3 separate regions of the Homo sapiens genome follow, and all the other regions are linked to region 2. The links are contacts of gene promoters, found by promoter capture Hi-C in blood cells and fetal thymus (Javierre and others, 2016). All regions are on one chromosome and are shown on one strand. The core of a region is centred on a gene start or on the middle of the fragment in contact, and the rest is flanking DNA. Distances in the headings are between cores, read along the strand shown.

Region 1 (3,236 bases), core at 254-2,753, 240 kb after region 2:
CTCTGTCTCAAAAAAAAAAAAAAAAAAAACAAGAACAAAAAAACAAAAAAAAAAAAGTCAGCCCTGCCCAAAGCTTAAATATGCTGTCATATCTTCAAAAAGATTAGAATATCTTACCTGAAAATCTCATACTATACTAAACTCAATTTCCTACTAATGAACTGTTTGACAAATACACTTTCATTTTTACTATGGGCCTCGTTGTTAATGAATATGACATTATAATATTAATCTGACATAATACTGACATCACAGTTTAACTGATTTGTATAATAAATGGTTTTTTCACATATAGAAAAAGAAATATATACATTCACTCCACAAGTGTTTACTGAATGCCTTCTACCTCAGGTATTTCCCTAAATGCTGGGTGTGCTTTAAAACAGATTTGATACTTGCTTTCATGGAGTTCACAATCTATGAGTGAGACAGACATTAATCAAGTAAACAGGTGATAATACAATTATAAATTGCGAACAGAACAAGGTGCTATAAAGTAGAATCACGGGGTAAGGGGTGTTCAGTCTATAAATTAGATGGTCAGAAATGGCCTCTCTGCTGAACATGACATTTTCATTTGATCGGATTAAGAAGTCAACCTTGTGAAAGTAGGGAACAAGTTTTCCAGCCAGAGCAAGCTGTTTCTTACTAATGCGACTGGCTTGTTTTATCAAAATGAATCATAATGTTTAATTGGTACTTCATCAGTACTCAATACGTATTTACTTATTGAATCTAATGATCAGATTCTGCATGCTATTCCACCTCTCTTATAAAAGGGCTTCGCGTACAATTAGGCACTTTAAGAAACAACAAAATATTTTGAAAGTAAGTTCCACGTATTTATTTGCCACTAACACACTGACTGTAAAAGATATGAAGCATATATACAAAAATTAACATAACCAAATATACATGCAATTAACCTTTTATATAGCTGTGTCTTTGTGGTTTCCATCTTTTCTCCCCCCACCTCTGAAAATGTTTACAATTTGTAATCTCCCTCTCAGTACTGCCTGTAATTATATGGAATGATACCCATCCAGAGGAAGGGGTTGTAAGGGGTCACAGAGGTTTGCATTAGAAGGAGTAAAGTTTGAAAACCTTCCCCAGACATTCAGTTATGCCCTATTCTAGGGCATATCCTTCCCCTCTTCATTTAGGAATTATTCTGGTCTTTTTAGATGTCATATTTCCATAAATCTGCAGACTATATTCATTCATCTCCACTAGCGAAAAGTTCCACATTTTATATTAATTTTTTTTTTTTTAGAGATAGGGTCTTGTTTTGTCACCCAGTCTGGAGTGCAGTGGTACAATCACAGCTCACTGTAACCTCAAACTCCTGGGGCCAGAAATGATCCTCCCACCTTAGCCTCCCAAGGAGTTGGGACTACAGGTGCACACTAACATGCCCAGCTAATTTTCTAACTTTTTATAGAGACAGGGTCTTCCTGTGTTGCCCAGGCTGGTCTCAAACTTCTCGCCTCGAGGGATCCTCCCACCTTGGACTCCCAAAGCACTGGGATTACAGGTGTGAGCCACCACACCCAGCTTACGTTAATTTCTTCAAATAACACATTTTTATAGGAAAAAATTATCGTGGGGTTTTATTGATATAGGAGTTAAGAAGAAATTAGGCAGATAGTGAGGGTACAGGAGTCCTTGGTAAGGTTTTCCTTTTAATTAAAAGCAGCCCTCAAATCATTTCTTTTCCTAACAAAGAGCAGACTGTAAAATGAAGTTGCAGACATAGGCAAGCAAGGTGGAAGCCTGCACATGCAAATGCCTGAAGTTGTGCCAATAGGAAAACACTACCTGGAACTGAGAGGTGACAGCGTGCTGGCAGTCCTCACAGCCCTCGCTCTCTCTCTGCGCCTCCTCGGCCTGGGCTCCCACTTTGGCGGCACTTGAGGAGCCCTTCAGCCCACCGCTGCACTGTGGGAGCCCCTTTCTGGGCTGGCCAAGGCCCGAGCCGGCTCCCTCAGCTTGCAGGGAGGTGTGGAGGGAGAGGCGCCAGCGGGAACCGGAGCTCCGCGCGGCGCTTGCGCGGGCCAGCTGGAGTTCCTGGTGGGCGTGGGCTTGGCGGGCCCCGCACTCGGAGCAGCCGGCGGGCCCTGCCGGCCCCAGGCAAGGAGGGGCTTAGCACCTGGGCCAGCAGATGCGGAGGGTGTACTGGGTCCCCCAGCAGTGCCAGCCCACCGGCGCTGCGCTCGATTTCTCACCGGGTCTTAGCTGCCTTCCCACGGGGCAGGGCTCGGGACCTGCAGCTTGCCATGCCTGAGCCTCCCACCCCCTCCATGGGCTCATGTGCGGCCCGAGCCTCCCCGACGAACGCCACACCCTGCTCCACGGCGCCCAGTCCCATCGACCACCCAAGGGCTGAGGAGTGCGGGCCCATGGTGCGGGACTGGCAGGCAGCTCCACCTGCAGCCCCCGTGCGGGATCCACTGGGTGAAGCCAGCTGGGCTCCTGAGTCTGGTGGGGACGTGGAGAACCTTTATGTCTAGCTCAGGGATTGTAAATACACCAATCAGCACCCTGTGTCTAGCTCAGGGTTTGTGAATACACGAATCGACACTCTCTATCTAGCTACTCTGGTGGGGCCTTGGAGAAACTTTGTCTAGCTCAGGGATTGTAAACACACCAATCGGCACTCTGTATCTAGCTCAAGGTTTGTAAACACACCAATCAGCACCCTGTGTCTAGCTCAGGGTTTGTGAATGCACCAATCCACACTCTGTATCTAGCTACTCTGGTGGGGCCTTGGAGAACCTTTGTGTCCACACTCTGTATCTAACTAATCTGGTGGGGAGGTGGAGAACCTTTGTGTCTAGCTCAGGGATTGTAAACGCACCAATCAGCGCCCTGTCAAAACAGACCACTCGGCAGTGGCAACCCGTTCGGGTCCCCTTCCACACTGTGGAAGCTTTGTTCTTTCGCTTTTTGCAATAAATCTTGCTACTGCTCACTCTTTGGGTCCACACTGCTTTTATGAGCTGTAACACTCACCGCGAAGGTCTGCAGCTTCACTCCTGAGCCAGCGAGACCACGAACCTACCAGAAGGAAGAAACTCAAGAACACATCCGAACATCAGAAGGAACAAACTCCAGACGCGCCACCTTAAGAGCTGTAACACTCACCGCGAGGGTCCGCAGCTTCATTCTTGAAGTCAGTGAGACCAAGAACCCACCAGTTCCGGACACAGAACTACGTGTTCAAAACGAGAGCTCTA
Region 2 (3,238 bases), core at 80-2,579:
AGATAAAAACATCCTGATGCACCTCCACCGCCTGCCACCTCCACCATCACACACACACACACACACACACACACACACACACAGCTCTTTCCACAGGAGAAAGAAGTGAGGCATTTAAAAACAATCTTACAAAACTATTTTTAAAATATTTGTAAAATCTCTTTAAATTTCTCTAAATGAAAATCAGTGGTTTTTAAATATAGGATTTCTATATGTCTTTATTCCTGTTATTCTAATAATAATCAAGCAAGGATTTAAGGGAAATCACGAGAAGCAGCAGAGAGAAGCAAGGCTGTTGCATGCAACTTCCACCTCCTGAGTCATTCCACTCTTTAACACAGATAATGTCACATGACCTAAAATAATTTAAAATGTGAGCACCTTCTATAATATCAACTATTTAAAATGGCCACGGTTCTATTATCCCAAATCCAATAAAATACAGAAAAAATCAATTTTCATGGCAATTAATTTGTGTTCAGCATACTCCTCACATCCATACTGGGGGAGGAGGGAGGGTCTATAGTCTCATTCCAAGTCTATTAAACACATTACATAAATCTTGATTCATGTGGGAGAAATGACTTACGTATTATTTCTAAGAGGTAAAAATAAAGACATAAACAATCTGTACCATCATAGCCAGCAGAAATCGTTCAAAAGGCCTTTGGACTCAGAATATTGGCTTGCCTCTGAGGCTGCAATCAGAAGGCTCAGCCCTGAGCTTTGGCAGAGCCACTGCCATGTTAATCTGCTTCATTATATCTCTACAATTTGTTCACTGCATTAAGGAGCAGTATTTCCCTTGTGAAAGGAAAACCCATCCTTCACTTTGAAAGCTTTACCTTTAAAAGGTAAACAAATACAGCCAGAGACAGAGACCAACAGCTAGAAAGCCAAAGAAATAATAAAACACGGTATGTCATAGTCAGAGCTCATTTCAGCCTAGGAAGATTTTAAATTGCACAACAGCTAGAATTAGAGCTTTTGAATCTCTTAGATCTGAATACAAGCTAACAAAGCACACATCTTATATTAAATGTCATTCTTAACATAGATAACAATCCGTGGATAAGTCAAAAATAGAATCATGCTGGCTTACCTGAAATAAAGAAAAATGTAAATCATAACACAGAATCCACGTATGTGTTGAATATAACAGTCTCCAATGCAATTCTTCAGAATTTTTACTGGAGTAGAAAGTAAAATCTCACATGTGCTCTATCCTCATTAAAGAAGAAAAAAACAAGAAAGGATGACCACAGCATCCTCCCTCCTTTGCCTTAGCTTTCTGTTCTGACAGTCATTCGATGGTACCCAATGTCTGTTAGAAAACAGCATGCTAAATTAGAAAAATAAATAAATAAAGGCAGCATCTTACATGACAGCTCCATCTCCTGGTCAAAAGTGGAACCATCTTAATTCACGTTCCTTTGGCTATGTAGCAGTCAGCACATAAAATTAAATGATGTACAGCCCATAATTCCACTCTATTTGAAATCAACTACTTTAATTAACTGTAATTTAAACATTTAAGAAGAATTATAGTATGAATTTTTAGAATTATAATTCTATTTTGGGGATTCAAATTTCTTTACATTATGTTTAAACTAAATGGAAGCTTTTCCCATCATTGAAAACTTAAGATTTATTTAACTTTATATACCATCTGAAAAAGTAATATGTATCTCCTATAAAACAATTTTAGATGTCAAGCTTATTGATAATGAACATCACATCTCTTTGTGGAGAAGTATAAGTTTTTGTCACTAGAGAAGTTAACACATAACACTTGTGTTGCTATTGTTTGGAGGAATGTTGAAAGGTTAAAGATAAGGCAGGAAAATTAAATGACTTAAAGGCAAACTTGAAAAATCTTTAGTTAATCTAATCTAACTACAAAAATACAGACGACAAGTTACATGCAACATGAAATTTGATAATTGTAGTAGTATACTATAGTGTGTAGTTACATCTTCTTAGAGAGATAAGAGAAAATTAAATTGTCAAAAGAATCCATTTGGTAAATGACACCATTTATAGAATCAAAGTTTTACTGAGCATATGATGTTCTCAATATATGTTTGTTTAATTAATTATTCTTCTTATGAACAGTTGTGAAGGCCAGGATCATTTTTTTAAAATTTGAAGTAAAAGGATAGGCATTTTTTTTCTCCCACTTTTTTACAACACCATTTTAATTTGGGGCCAAATCGATCTTTAATTTCCTATTGCAGTAACGCTGTCCATGGTGCTGAGAACCAATTTTAGAACTCATGGTGAGTTCTAGGTCTTAAACGGGTCTGAAATACTGTCTTTGTCAGATTTGATATAAAATTTACCATTAAAAGTCCCCAGATCAGCCAGAATAATTGATAGTATCTAATATAAAAATAGTTAAGTAATTTTTTTATCCACAAAATATGTATATACACATGTCCATCAGAAGCCAAAATGCTGATAAATACATTTAATAAAATACATGATTGCAAGCTACACTTTCTTTGGATTCATAATATTTTATTTTCTGTGTGCTAAAGTTATACTGAATAGATTGCTTTAACATAAGGTTGTTCCCACACTATTAAATAGACGAGGAAACCAAAGCCCACTCTTCAGTAACTTATCCAGTATTAATAAGCAAGTCAGAAGAACAAACCCAGTTTCTTAAATTTTACCTTACTTCCATTTCTACAACATTATTAAGATGTATTAGTTTGGTTATGAAAATATATTTTTAACACTGAACAAATAAATAATTAAAGTGACTTGGTAGATCAAATTATTTTAATGTATACACTCAACTATTTCATCTCACAAGTTTCCTGCACTATCATAAGATACATAAGCTCTCAGGGCACATAATTATGATAATTTTGCCAAATTAATTTGCAATTTCAACAAATTACTCCTGATGGCCAAGAAGCTTAAACCTGTAAGATTAAAGCCTAAGATGCCACAAATATGAAATATTATTGATACTTTATTTTTAAAATCACGGGAATTTTACAATAATTTATATAAAATTTAAATGTTTTTCTTAACACAGTAATCATTTTTCCCCATAGTCTTGAGGGTAAATTTTATCCTTAGGGAAGATGTGACTAACTGATCCTGGGATTTTGTGTACCTCTAGGCACGCCACCTCATGCCCCCAGGGATACAATATCCCAGTTTCAAGACCATAGGGTTATATGACACAGAAACTGGAGCAATCCTTTTCAACCCTAAATCATAT
Region 3 (3,456 bases), core at 115-2,614, 220 kb after region 2:
TTGGTAAATTAGAAGTCCTTCCTTTCTTTTTAACTAGGAAGATATGATCCAGGAAGCTGCTAGAAGTTCTGGGTACGGACACAGAGATAAAGATAGTTTAAGAGGATGAAGCATAATGAGAGAAGTACAAATGAGAGTGTAAGACAAAGTGTGCTGCTGGCTTTCCAGACCCTGGTTTGGGGTGTTCAGCTCTACCATGAACAATTCCTTTTTTGCTTAAGCTGGTTCAAGTTAGAATTCTATCACTATCAAAATGGGCTAACTAATAGAGATGGAAATCCACAAATGTAAGTTGAATGACAGAAGAAAGAACGAGAGAGAGAGAAAGAAAGAGAGAGAGAGAGAAAGAAAGAAAGGAGGGAGGGAGGGAGGGAGGGAGGGCAGGAAGGGAAGGAAGGAAGGTTAAAACTTAAGTGTGTCAGGAAATTCTTTCAACCTCATTAAACCCACTCAAGATCCAAAGTTTGTGGACTTCTTTTTTTTTTTTTTTTTTTTTGAGATGGAGTCTCCCTCTGTTGCCCAGGCTGGAGTGCAGTGGCGAGATCTCAGTTCACTACAAGCTCCGCCTCCCAGGTTCACGCCATTCTCCTGCCTGGGCCTCCCATGTAACTGGGACTACAGGCACCCGCCACCACACCTGGTTAATTTTTTTTTTTTTTTTTTTTTTTTTTTTTGGCGACAGAGTCTCGCTCTGTCGCCCAGGCTGGAGTGCAGTGGCATGATCTTGGCTCACTACGTGATCCTCCTGGGCTCAAGTGATATTTTCACCTCAGTCTCCCAAACTGCTGGGACTATAGGCGTGAGCCACTGCACCTGGCCTATTTTGGATATTTGTCCCCTCTAAATCTCATGTTGAAATGTAATCTCCAATGTTGGAGGTGAGGCCTAGTGGGAGGTGTTTCGATCCTGGGGGTGGAACCCTCATAAATGGTGTGGTGCCCTGCCCACATTAATGAGTGAGTTCTCCTCTATTACTTCACACAAGAGCTGGCCATTTAAAAGTGTGGCACTCCTCTTCTCTCTCTCTTGCTCCCTCTCTTGCCATGTGACATGCCTGCTCCACTTCGCCTTCCACCATGACTGGAAGCTTCCTGAGACCTTATCAGAAGCAGATGCTGGTGCCATGCTTCTTGTACAGTCTGAAGAACCATGAGCCAAAATAAAGCTCTTTGATTTATAAGTTACTCAGCCTCAGATATTCCTTTACAGCAACACAACATGGACTAATAGAAGTGGCAATCATGTGTCAGACCTTCTCCAGAATTAAATTTGAAAAAAAAAAAAAACACATTGTTATAAATTCAGGGATCTACTATGTAAATCATACAATAATAATTAGAACAGAATTTTTAAACTCCATAGTAAGGTATCTGTACATTTCTCAAGTTATTTATACATTCAAGACTTTCAGAATTAAAAAGAGACTGATACAACATGGCTATATGAATTTAGTCACTAGCTTCCAAAAATCTGTGACATTATTACAAGATGAGAAAATAAAAGTGAATTGCCAATTTTGCTGTCTAAATTGACCAACAATTTAAAAGGTTAAAAGATTAAATACACAAAGCTCTTAGTGTCTAAAGGACATTTTGCAGTTCTGAGAAAGATAATTATTCTATATTGGTTTTTGAAAGCTTAGAGTCTAGCAAATTATGTATAGGTTTTTCAGATATATACAAACAGTATGACCTATCTACACTTTGTTTAAAAAAAACTATATTCATTAAATATTGGCCCTTCTTACTGACCACTCATTATATTTTATCATTATGTAAAATGCAGTAAGAGCAATACGCTAGGTGCCGGACAGAGCTGCAGATCCAAAGTAATTTTTTAAATGGAAATTAATTCAGCAGTCTAGGGAAATACTATTACAAGCAATGCCCTGCTGAATCTCATTAAATCAATTTGGAAAGACATATAGTTGGAAAGGTAAAAATAAATCAATAAGATTAAAAAGGAAGTCTATGCTTTACAGAAAAGAGAGAGAAAGAGAGGAGTTATATTATCTGGTTGTTAAGTGACAGGATTTAAGTAGGACTGATTTGTCTCCCTTATAGGGAAAAGCAGTTTTCAGGACTAGAGCAAAATACTGTTTGCACATGGCCCAGTTTGTACAAACTGCATTTCCCTCGGCAAGACTTCACTCCATCTTTAAAAATGGAGATGAGCTTCCACCAGAGGAGCTATTGCCTAGCAACAAGATGCTAAGAAGGCGAAGGCGAGCTGAGTCCTCTCTATAAAGAGCTCCCTCTCCCTCTCTCTACCACACTGCAATGATTTCCAGTGCAGACTGATGCCCTTGAGGGAGTCACCTTAACGACCAGAAAGCTATAGGAAAAGAATTTTGCTAAGATCACGATAAAGTCTAAGCTTCTTTTGTTTTTCAGCAGACATTCGATGCTCACTCCTCTCTGTGCTTAGCCCTACACAAAGCATTTTCACAAACGTGTTTTTATTTCCTTTAAGCCCCTAGCTGTCACCAGTATTGAGTCATATGACTGACTAGCTGACTAGCTATAGACCTAAGATCTATCTGGTCTTACCTGAGATTGTCAAATGTTTGCTGAGAAGCACTGATGTCCATCATCTTTGCTATTGCCTCAAATGTTAAACTCCTACCCCTACGCTAAAATAGGCAGGGTGGCAAATCCTCTTTTAACCTCTTTTTCACAGTTTGAATAGTTCTCTGCTCCTCCTATTCCCCACTCCCACCATCTTGATAAAGATTCTAAGTATTTATTGTTTGTTTTTTAACGGGCTTCTACTAAGCACATAGTACTAAGTACTAGAGACAAAATTAGGAACAAGACATAGTTCCCATAGGAGCCTACAGAGGACCATAGGAGTAAACAGGAGAAGCACAGAATGGCCAAGAAAATCGAGAAGCAGTGGAGAAGGCTGCCCAGAGATGGCACCTGTACCCTGAGACCTGCAGTACCCACAGAAGTCAGTCTTGCAAAAGGATGGGCGTGGCTGGAAAGTGGCCTGGGATGATGGTAGGGAAAATAACATTCTGGGCAGAGAGAACAAAGGCAGTGCTAAGTGACAGGGAGCCTGAAGCCTAGGGAATATGTTACTTTCTATGCTGTAATTCAATAGTAATAATTTTTTCACAATATCCAAATTGACTCACTACCTTTTTATTGCCACCTAGGATACAGCCAAAGACCGTTCACAAATATGATACAAAAGCTATTGTTATTTCATCAGTGTTTTATTCAAACTGCATTTAATCAAAATGTGCTTCCGTATGTTTCAAAATGGCATCAGGGCTTGGACTACGCTCAAAACAATAATTCTTAAGTATATAGGACAATATAATAACGTGATTACTAAACAAATCTGTTGTCAAATTGTAACGACCGAAGAAAAATTAGAAAACGTATTCTGGGCAAACCAGATACAACTCTTGCAAAAGTCTGTATTCACATGTTCTTACCTATTTTTAGA

Evidence for each region. Contacts are between HindIII fragments. The CHiCAGO score rates a contact against its expected background, and 5 or more counts as called.
Region 1: a fragment that was not itself captured here is called in contact with the fragment with the promoter of SCN2A in region 2 in 1 of 17 cell types (erythroblasts); the score reaches 5.3 in erythroblasts.
Region 3: a fragment that was not itself captured here is called in contact with the fragment with the promoter of SCN2A in region 2 in 3 of 17 cell types (fetal thymus, megakaryocytes and erythroblasts); the score reaches 7.2 in fetal thymus.

What each region holds. Positions count from the first base shown.
Region 1 is chr2:164,993,911-164,997,146 of GRCh38, reverse strand. No RefSeq gene overlaps it. Among named protein-coding and RNA genes, the nearest start is that of SLC38A11, 40 kb to the right of the region's middle. RefSeq lists an enhancer at 1,748-2,248. The HindIII fragment of the contact is 2,856 bases long and covers 76-2,931 here.
Region 2 is chr2:165,237,505-165,240,742 of GRCh38, reverse strand. SCN2A (sodium voltage-gated channel alpha subunit 2) reads right to left here and starts at 1,329. Exons shown (of 27, transcript NM_001040142.2): 1 at 1,103-1,329. The HindIII fragment of the contact is 782 bases long and covers 842-1,623 here.
Region 3 is chr2:165,017,187-165,020,642 of GRCh38, reverse strand. No RefSeq gene overlaps it. Among named protein-coding and RNA genes, the nearest start is that of SLC38A11, 63 kb to the right of the region's middle. The HindIII fragment of the contact is 550 bases long and covers 1,090-1,639 here.